2 separate regions of the Homo sapiens genome follow, and region 1 is linked to region 2. The links are contacts of gene promoters, found by promoter capture Hi-C in blood cells and fetal thymus (Javierre and others, 2016). All regions are on one chromosome and are shown on one strand. Each heading gives the region's core, a stretch centred on a gene start or on the middle of the fragment in contact. The rest is flanking DNA. Distances are from core to core; before and after follow the strand shown. Region 1 holds the start of EIF2B5 (eukaryotic translation initiation factor 2B subunit epsilon). Region 2 holds the start of HTR3E (5-hydroxytryptamine receptor 3E).

The links. Contacts are between HindIII fragments. The CHiCAGO score rates a contact against its expected background, and 5 or more counts as called.
Region 1: a contact is called between the fragment with the promoter of EIF2B5 here and the fragment with the promoter of HTR3E in region 2, in 1 of 17 cell types (neutrophils). The highest score is 5.2, in neutrophils.

What each region holds. Positions count from the first base shown.
Region 1 is chr3:184,133,952-184,137,336 of GRCh38, forward strand. It overlaps EIF2B5 (eukaryotic translation initiation factor 2B subunit epsilon), which reads left to right and starts at 1,407. Exons shown (of 16, transcript NM_003907.3): 1 at 1,407-1,629; 2 at 2,661-2,785. The coding sequence starts at 1,435. EIF2B5-DT (EIF2B5 divergent transcript) reads right to left here and starts at 1,310. Exons shown (of 2, transcript NR_183721.1): 1 at 585-1,310; 2 at 1-327. RefSeq lists enhancers at 1-437, 1,307-1,366, 1,687-1,756 and a silencer at 1,507-1,616. The HindIII fragment of the contact is 10,653 bases long and covers 555-3,385 here.
Region 2 is chr3:184,094,581-184,099,513 of GRCh38, forward strand. It overlaps HTR3E (5-hydroxytryptamine receptor 3E), which reads left to right and starts at 2,484. Exons shown (of 9, transcript NM_001256613.2): 1 at 2,484-3,016. The coding sequence starts at 2,950. HTR3E-AS1 (HTR3E antisense RNA 1) reads right to left here. Exons shown (of 3, transcript NR_133658.1): 3 at 538-770. The HindIII fragment of the contact is 4,461 bases long and covers 2,211-4,933 here.

The DNA.
Region 1 (3,385 bases), core at 157-2,656, 38 kb after region 2:
TCCCCTCCCCCATTTCTACCTCTGGATTTGTAGGGCAGTTGAACATTCCTTTTCTACAACGTGCATTCATTTAATGGAAAACTTTTACTTAGTTGGCTTCAGCCTTTCCTTTTCTAGGATAAATCAAATGGTTTTCGTTCCGCACCCTAACGAGGCAAGAAATGACAAACTCCTCGGTCCCCCTAGGCGGGCGCCGGAGCACGACGGGTCAAGTCGGAATCGCCACGTGGAAACAGCTCTCAGCATCGCGAACTCCAAATCCCGACGTGCAACGCGGGGCGGGATGGGAACAGTTTGCAGGAACTGCAGAAGCCTGTGGCGTGGAACCTGGACAGGTCCCGTGCAGAAAGGGCGCTATGCCTTACAGAAAAGTTCCTTGCCTCCCAAATGACGCCCAGCCTTCCTGCCCCGTTCCACCGCTTTCCCACGGCCCCGCCCCTCTACAGAGTTGGTTTATTCCCCGCAGCCACCGCTTCTTTCCCCAAAGAGAAAAAGGTGCTGCTGCGCCTTTTCAAGCCTTGGACCTTTACGCCCGCACTTTCCTCTGCCCAGAAAGCTTACTGCTTAACTCCAGTACAACTTACTGGTGCGCCTGGATCCACCCCCGTCTCCACTCTGCTTAAGACACAGGAGGCTGATAGGCTGGAAGAATGAATAGATGACATAAAATAGTCATTGTTATCCCCACATAACTTGGCAGCAAGATTGTGGAACTCTGCAGTCAGACAGATCGGGTTCCAATACCAGTTCTTCCACTTACTAGCTGGGTAAACTTCCTTCATCCTTCTGAGAGTTCAAGAAACGTTTGCTGAACGAATGAATAAGATGTTTTGCAGAGATAATGCTTGTATCGTGCCTGGCCCAAAATCAGCGCTCAATGGAATTACTGGTCTCCCTACTATATGCCTGCCACCTTCTCTATTTATGCAGGTTCTGAGTTCCTCGCAGCGGGGGAACATCTGGCTCGGTTCTATCTCCCCAAGGCGCTGGGTTCCCAGAAGTTTCTAGAATGAATACGGAGGGCTACATATTTCACATGCGCGGGGCGGGGAAACTGCTGGGCGATTACAGATTCCCGATGGAGCTGGCCCCTTCGTGGCGACCACAAGTCCTATCACGCCACAAGAATCTCGGCTTGTTCACCTACAAATGAAGGCCGACGATACTTGCAGACCGAGTCTGACATCTATGGGACCCCACTCCTACCCTGCGCCTCAGGGGCCGGGACAACCGTGACCCGTACCGACTCCTCGCGCCTCCGGGATCAACCTCAGACCCCTGTGGGCTCCCGGGGAAGACGCATGCGCACTGCTCCCTCCTCGTCTCCTTCCCTTCGTTAATTAGTCCATCGCATTTCAAGTGCTGGATCCTTTTTGTCCCCTACTGCGTGCGGTGGCAGCTTCCTTGCGGAAGTGGTGACCGTGAGAGAAGAAGATGGCGGCCCCTGTAGTGGCGCCGCCTGGTGTGGTGGTTAGTCGGGCTAACAAGCGCAGCGGCGCGGGGCCGGGAGGCAGCGGTGGCGGGGGAGCCAGAGGGGCGGAGGAGGAACCGCCGCCGCCCCTACAAGCAGTTCTGGTGGCCGATAGCTTCGATCGCCGCTTCTTCCCCATCTCCAAGGACCAGCCTCGGGTGAGCGCCGCGCACGCGAGCAGCCAGAGGGCAGGAAGGGTGGCAGGGCTGGAGCAAGTTCTCATTTCGGCTAACTACAACAGCATGCCCTTGAAGGACCTGCGTCTATGCTGTTATCCTAAAACCGGATGCAGAGGGACTGTCTAAACCCTGATGACTGCTGACCAAGTTAGTGGCCGGCAGATTTGGGCATTCGTAATGCTGTCCACCTCGGGTTTGAAAGGAATGAAGAGAGCTAAATGTAGAAACAGCGCTTGAGAGAAGCCTTCACGCGGGGATTCAGTGCCCCTAGAAGAGGCTGCGCCGCTTTTAACCTTGCCGATGACGGTTGCTTAGGTGAAAAGAAACGACCTTTTGCCTCTGAAAGGGCGGTAATATGCCTTAAAAAGAGCGGGCTAGATCTCAGGCAGTGTATTTTTTTTTTCCTTCCAGGTTCTAATGATAGCCGGTGCTATCTGTCGAAAGGACAAAATGGGTTTAGTGGTTGATTGCCATCAGCCCCCGAGTTGTCTAGACAATGGGGTATTGGACTCAGCTGGGTCGTTCAGCAGTCAGTTCAGAAAGAGGGAACTGCATTGGATTTAAGGAAAATCCTCTCTAATTCCCTCGAAAAAGCCTAATGGCTGTTCATTTTTGACAAGTGACGGGAGATGGCTAACCTCTGACACTTAGAAAGGGATCAAGGAAGGAAATCTTATGGGGAAGAAGGCCTTAGCAATGCTTAAATTTATGGAAATATGATTGATTTCCAGTATTATCCTTTGCCAGCAGTGAACTGCCATTCTGTCACAGCTCTGTGTCTGATACAAGGCACATAGATTCTGTACTTACCATCCCCAAATTGCAATGTCTCAGACTCAGGCTTAGAGCATGGCATGAACATCAAAGGCAGGAACCTGTTTATCTTTGAATTGGAAAGATACAGCAAAATTACACTGTTTGGAAATACGAATAGAGGAGTGAAAATTGTTGCAGTGGGGTACCCAAAGGGATTCGAGACCTCAAGTTTTTTTTCATCTTGTATCCTTCAGGTCCTCTTGCCCCTGGCCAATGTGGCATTAATTGACTACACTCTGGAATTCCTGACTGCCACAGGTGTACAGGAAACATTTGTCTTTTGTTGCTGGAAAGCTGCTCAAATCAAAGAACATTTACTGTAAGGCCCTGCAACTTTTCTTTCCATGTTTCGCCATCTTTTTCCAGTTTTTTCAGGATGAATGTAACTAAGGGGAAATGTGAGAGGGGAAAAATGTGTCTACTTAGATGTCATTGTAAGTTCTAAGGGTATTTTCTACACTTATCAGGAGGTGAGCAGCTGAAACTTTGTATCTGTCTGTCTTGGGTTTTCTGTGACAAAGATTAAAGAATAAACTTGGGTTTTTTCTGAATCTCATTATAAAGTTTGGTGCCAGTGGACTTTGCTTTTATTTAATGGCTTCAGTATGGAAGTTACAATGATAACATCTTTGTTTTCCCACTGAGTTTCTAAATCTTGTTTGTTCTCACCTTCAAGGATATAAATGAGCTCCTTGTCATCTTTGTATTCCCACTGCCTAGCTCAGTCCCAAGCATATAGTGAGCACTTACATGTTTGTTGAAATCTTGAAAACTAGGGAATCGCATTGCTTATGGAAGTCCAGGATGTAAAGACTAGGACATTAGCATGGTCTCCATCAGACAGTTCCTAAATGTTATATGGATTGCAGAAGGGGAAAGCTGACGTGAAGCGTGTTCCCAGGCTACTTTGTGTACCCTA
Region 2 (4,933 bases), core at 1,234-3,733:
AAATTAACTCAAAATGGATAAAATATTTTACATGTAGGGCTGGACGCGGTGGCTCACTCCTGTAATCCCAGCACTTTGGGAGGCTGAGGCGGGCAGATCACCTGAGGTGGGGAGTTCGAGTCCAGCCTGACCAACATGGAGAAACCCCGTCTCTACTAAAAATACAGAATTAGCTGGGGGTAGTGGCACATGCCTGTAATCCCAGCTACTTGAGAGGCTAAGGCAGGAGAATCACTTGAACCCAGGAGGTGGAGGTTGCAGTGAGCTGAGATCATGCCATTGCACTCAGCCTGAGCAACAAGAGTGAAACTCCGTCTCAAAAAAAAAAAAGAAGATTTAAGTGTAGACCTAAAACAATAAAACTCCTAAAAGAACACATAGGGAAAAAGCTTCAAAACATTGGAGTTAGCAGTGATTTCTTGGATATGACACAAAGGCATAGGCAACAAAAGAAAAAATAGACAAATAGTACTTCATGAAAATATTAAACATCTATGAATCAAAAGACACTATTAACAGAGGAAAGAAGACAACCCACAAAATGGGAGAAAACATTTGCAAATTATATAGCTGATAAGGGATTAATATCCAAACTATACATAGAATTCCTGAAACTCAACAACAAAAAACAACTTGATTTAAAAATGGGTAAAAGGTTAGCCATAGTGGTTCATACCTGTAAATTCCAGTGATTTGGGAGGCTGAGGCAGGAGGATTGCTTGAGGCCAGGAGTTCAACACCAGCCTGGGCAGCATAGCAAGGCCCTGTCTCTAGAAACAATAAAAAAAAATTAGCCACACATGGTGGCATGCACCTGTAGTCCCAGCTACTTGGGAGGCTGAGGTGGCAGGATTGCTTGAGCCCTGGAGTTCAAGGCTACAGTGAGCTATGATCATACCACTGTACTCCAGCCTGGGAGACAGTGAGACCCTGTCTCTAAAAAAAACAAAACAAAACAAAAAGCAAAACTCAGTGGACAGATTAGACACAGCTGAGGGCCGGGCACGGTGGCTCACGTCTGTAATCCCAGCATGGTGGCTCACAGTTGAGGGCCAGGCATGGTGGGAGACAGTGAAACCCTCTCTCTAAAAAACAAAAAAACAAAAAAACAAAACCAAAACTCAGTGGGCAGATTAGATGGACAGATTAGACACAGTTGAGGGTCAAGCACAGTGGCTCACTCCTGTAATCCCAGCACTTTGGAAGGCCGAGGTGGGCAGATCAGCTGAGGTGAGGAGTTCAAGACCAGCCTGGACAACATGGTGAAACCCTGTCTCTAATAAAAATACAAAAATTAGCTGGGTGTGGTGGCACAAGCCTGTAGTCCCAACTACTCAGGAGGCTGAGACAGGAGAATCGCTCAAATCAAGGAGGTGGAGGCTGTAGTGAGCCAAGATCACGCCACTGCACTCTAGCCTGGGCAACAGAATGAGACTCCATCTCAAAATAAAATAAAATATGGAAGGCATCCATACTTGCATTTTGCATTCTTCGTATGTAATCATATTGTCAAAGACAAATTATGTCATAATCTATTGTAAATAACACTTTTCCCCAGACCTACCATAAAGTTTCTGCAATGTATTGTCTTCCAGTTGCAATAAAAATTACTGAGTTTCATCAAAAATTAATTAATTAATTAATTAAAATAAACACAGTTGAGGAGAGAATTTTTTTCCTGGAAGCTAGATCTGAAGAAATCATTAGGGACAGAGATAAAGAGGTAGAAAATAGGAAAGAGAGGTGTGCTAGGCAGAATAACGGCCCCCAGAATTTGTCCACATCCTAATCTCTGGAACCTTAGGTTATATGGAAAAGGGGAGTTAAGGTTGCAGATGGAATTAAGGTTGTTAATTATCGGACTTTGAGATGGGGAGACTATCCTGGATTATCCAAATGGACACAATGCAATCACAAAGGCTCTTATAAGTGGAAGAAGGAGAGAGAAACAAATAAGAACCAGAGAGATGAGATGCCTTGTGAGAAACATTGGCCTGATGTTGCTGGTTTTGAAGATGGAGAAGTAAAAATAATGAACCAAGAAATACAGGCAGTTTAAAAGCTGGAAAAGGCCGGGTACAATGGCTCATGTCTATAATCCCAGCACTTTGGGAGATCAAGGTTGGAGGATCACTTGAGGCCAGGAGTTGGAGACAAGCCTAGGCAACAAAGCGAGACCTCATTTCTACTAAAAAAAAAAAAAATAGCCAAGCTTGGTGGCTCACACCTGTGAGGTCCCAGCTACTTGGGAGGCTGAGACGGAAAGATCCCTTGAGCCCAGGAGGTCAAGGCTGCAGTGAGTCGCGATTGCGCCACTGCACTCCAGCCTGGTCAACAGAGTGAAACCCTGTCTCAAAAAAAAAAAAATCTGGAAAAGGCAAGGAAATGGATTCTCCTCTAGAGCCTCCAGAGGGAATGCGGTCCTGCTGACACATTCATTTTAGCCCAGTGAGACCCATTTCAAACTTCTGGCCCACAGAACAGTAAAATAACAAATTGTGTTTATTTAAGCCACTGGGTTTGTGATTTGTTACAACAGCAATAAAAGGCATGTAAGATAGAAGGAAACCATTCAACACATGTCTAATAAGAAAAATAGAGGAAGTGAAACATTTATAAATGTCTGAGAATTTTCCAAAATTGAAGAGATGAGTCTTCAGACCAAGGGATCTCACCAAGATCTGCAAGTTGATCACGTATGAACTATCTATAACCATTTACGTTGCAGTGAAATACCTAAGACTAAGATAAAGTCTTAAAAGCAGACTGAACCTTAAGCATAGGCAAGAACAAGACAACCAGAACACTCTTTGAAGGAAGGTTACAAATGTCAGTGGTCAACCAATGCTATTAGTATTCAAAGTCAGACTCTAGGTGTGGCCTGTGCTGCTTTAATCTGGGCATTCCTGGGTCCCAGTACATGTTCAGAGAAGAACTTAGACAAAGAAGATGGAAGGAAGCTGGTTCCACAGGAAAAGATTTTCCTTCTACCTCCTTCTCGGTTTTCTGCTTCAAGGTAAGAAAGGAGCAATGATGGGGGAAGGCGGAAGAAGGAGGACCTCTCTCTAGTAGAACATCTAGGAACTTTTTTCAAATTTCCAACTCCTAGAGATTGTCTAAGATGGATAGAGTTCTTTCATAGCTACATTACTAAGATGCCCACATAGACTTTCCTTTTCTGAAAGACGGAAAATCCCCTTCCAGTTACATGCCAAACAAGAGCACTTTCATTTTCCTTCTCGAAAAATAGAGTTCAACACCAGCAAACTTTATCCTTTCACATATGGATATCCAGTTTTCCCAATACTACTTGAAAAGTCTGTCTTTTCTCCATTGGTACCCTACATGGAAGACAACCATCCACGATCGTCTTCTCTTGTATTTAGCTTCTATATCCATCCATCTTTCTATCCACAGGTGTAATTCTTTCTCTCTACAGGTATGAAACCCAAACCATTGTAGCAAAGTGCCCACCTCCTTTAGCCATAATTTCCCTGTCCATCTGCTGGATCCAAGGGCTCTAGGTTAGGTAAGGTGCCAGAAGGCAGCAGGTCAAGGGTGAAAGTAGAATGTGCTTCTCTTCCAGGGGGTCAGCATGGTAGAGAGACAAGAACATGGGATTTGGAGACAGGTGGACCTGGGTTTGAATCTTGGTGTCTCACGTTGCTAGTTTTATAAACTTGGATGCACTGCTTAACTTATCTGAGCTCTGGTTTCCTCATCTGTAAAACAGAACCTACCTTGCAGGGTTGTGAGGATTCAGTAAGAGAAGGAGGGAAGCACAGTGTCTGGCACTTGGTAAAAGTGCCAATAACTGTCATCTCTCCTCGTTAGATTATTCCATGACTTTGGATAAGGAGGCACAGGAGAGGACTGAACCAGAGGTGACTTTAAAGGCCAGCACAGGGAAGAGACACAAATTGTACACCTGGTCTAGGCAGTGTAAATGGTTATGAAAGCTCCTCTGGGCACTTGCACACAGGGGTTGACAAATGAATATTCACTGTTCTTAGAGTGGTTTAAGAATTTGCTGGAAAGCACTGTGACGTTGGGAATGGATAAGGCTCAATGTCCTTGGCACAGAGGTTATCAACCATCTCTCTCAGTCCAAGTTGTTGCTCCTCCAACACATTTTCATGACTAGAAAATTTAAAAATTTATTAGTTAGAAGAGGGTGGGACGGGTCAGGTGAGGTGGCTCACACCTGTAATCCCAGCACTTGGGACGCTGAGGCAGGCGGATCACCTGAGGTCAAGAGTTCAAGACCAGCCTGGCTAACATGGTGAAACCCCATCTCTACTAAAAATACAAAAACTAGCCTGATGTGGTGGTAGTGCCTGTAATCCCAGTTACTTGGGAGGCTGAGGCAGAAGAATCGGTTGAACCTGGGAGCCAGAGATTGCAGTGAGTCAAGATCGCACCACTGCACTCCAGCCTGGGTGACAGAGTGAGACTCCCTCTAAAAAAAATTTAAAAATTTAAAAAAGAAATTAAAAAAAAATCCCACCCACACTTCTAAAAATAGCTATGTGGCTAGGAATGGTGGCTCACACCTATAATTCCAGAACTTTGGGAGGCCCAGGTGGGAGAATCACTTGAGCCCCGGGGTTTGAGACCAGCCTGGGCAATATAGTGAGATCCCCGTCTCTACAAAAATTTTTTAAAAAAATTAGCCAAGTGTGGTGGGGAACGCCTGTAGTCACAGTTACTTGGGAGGCTGAGGTGGGAAGATCCCCTAAGCCCAGAGGCTGAGGCCAAGTGATTGCGCCACTGCACTCCAGCCTGGGCAGTAGAGTGAGTCGCTGTCTCAAAAAACCCCCAAAAACCCCAAACTAAGAAATATGCACAATTAGGCCGGGCACGGTGGCTCACGCCTGTAATCCCAGCACTTTGGGAGGCCGAGGCGGGTGGATCATGAAGTCAGGAGATTGAG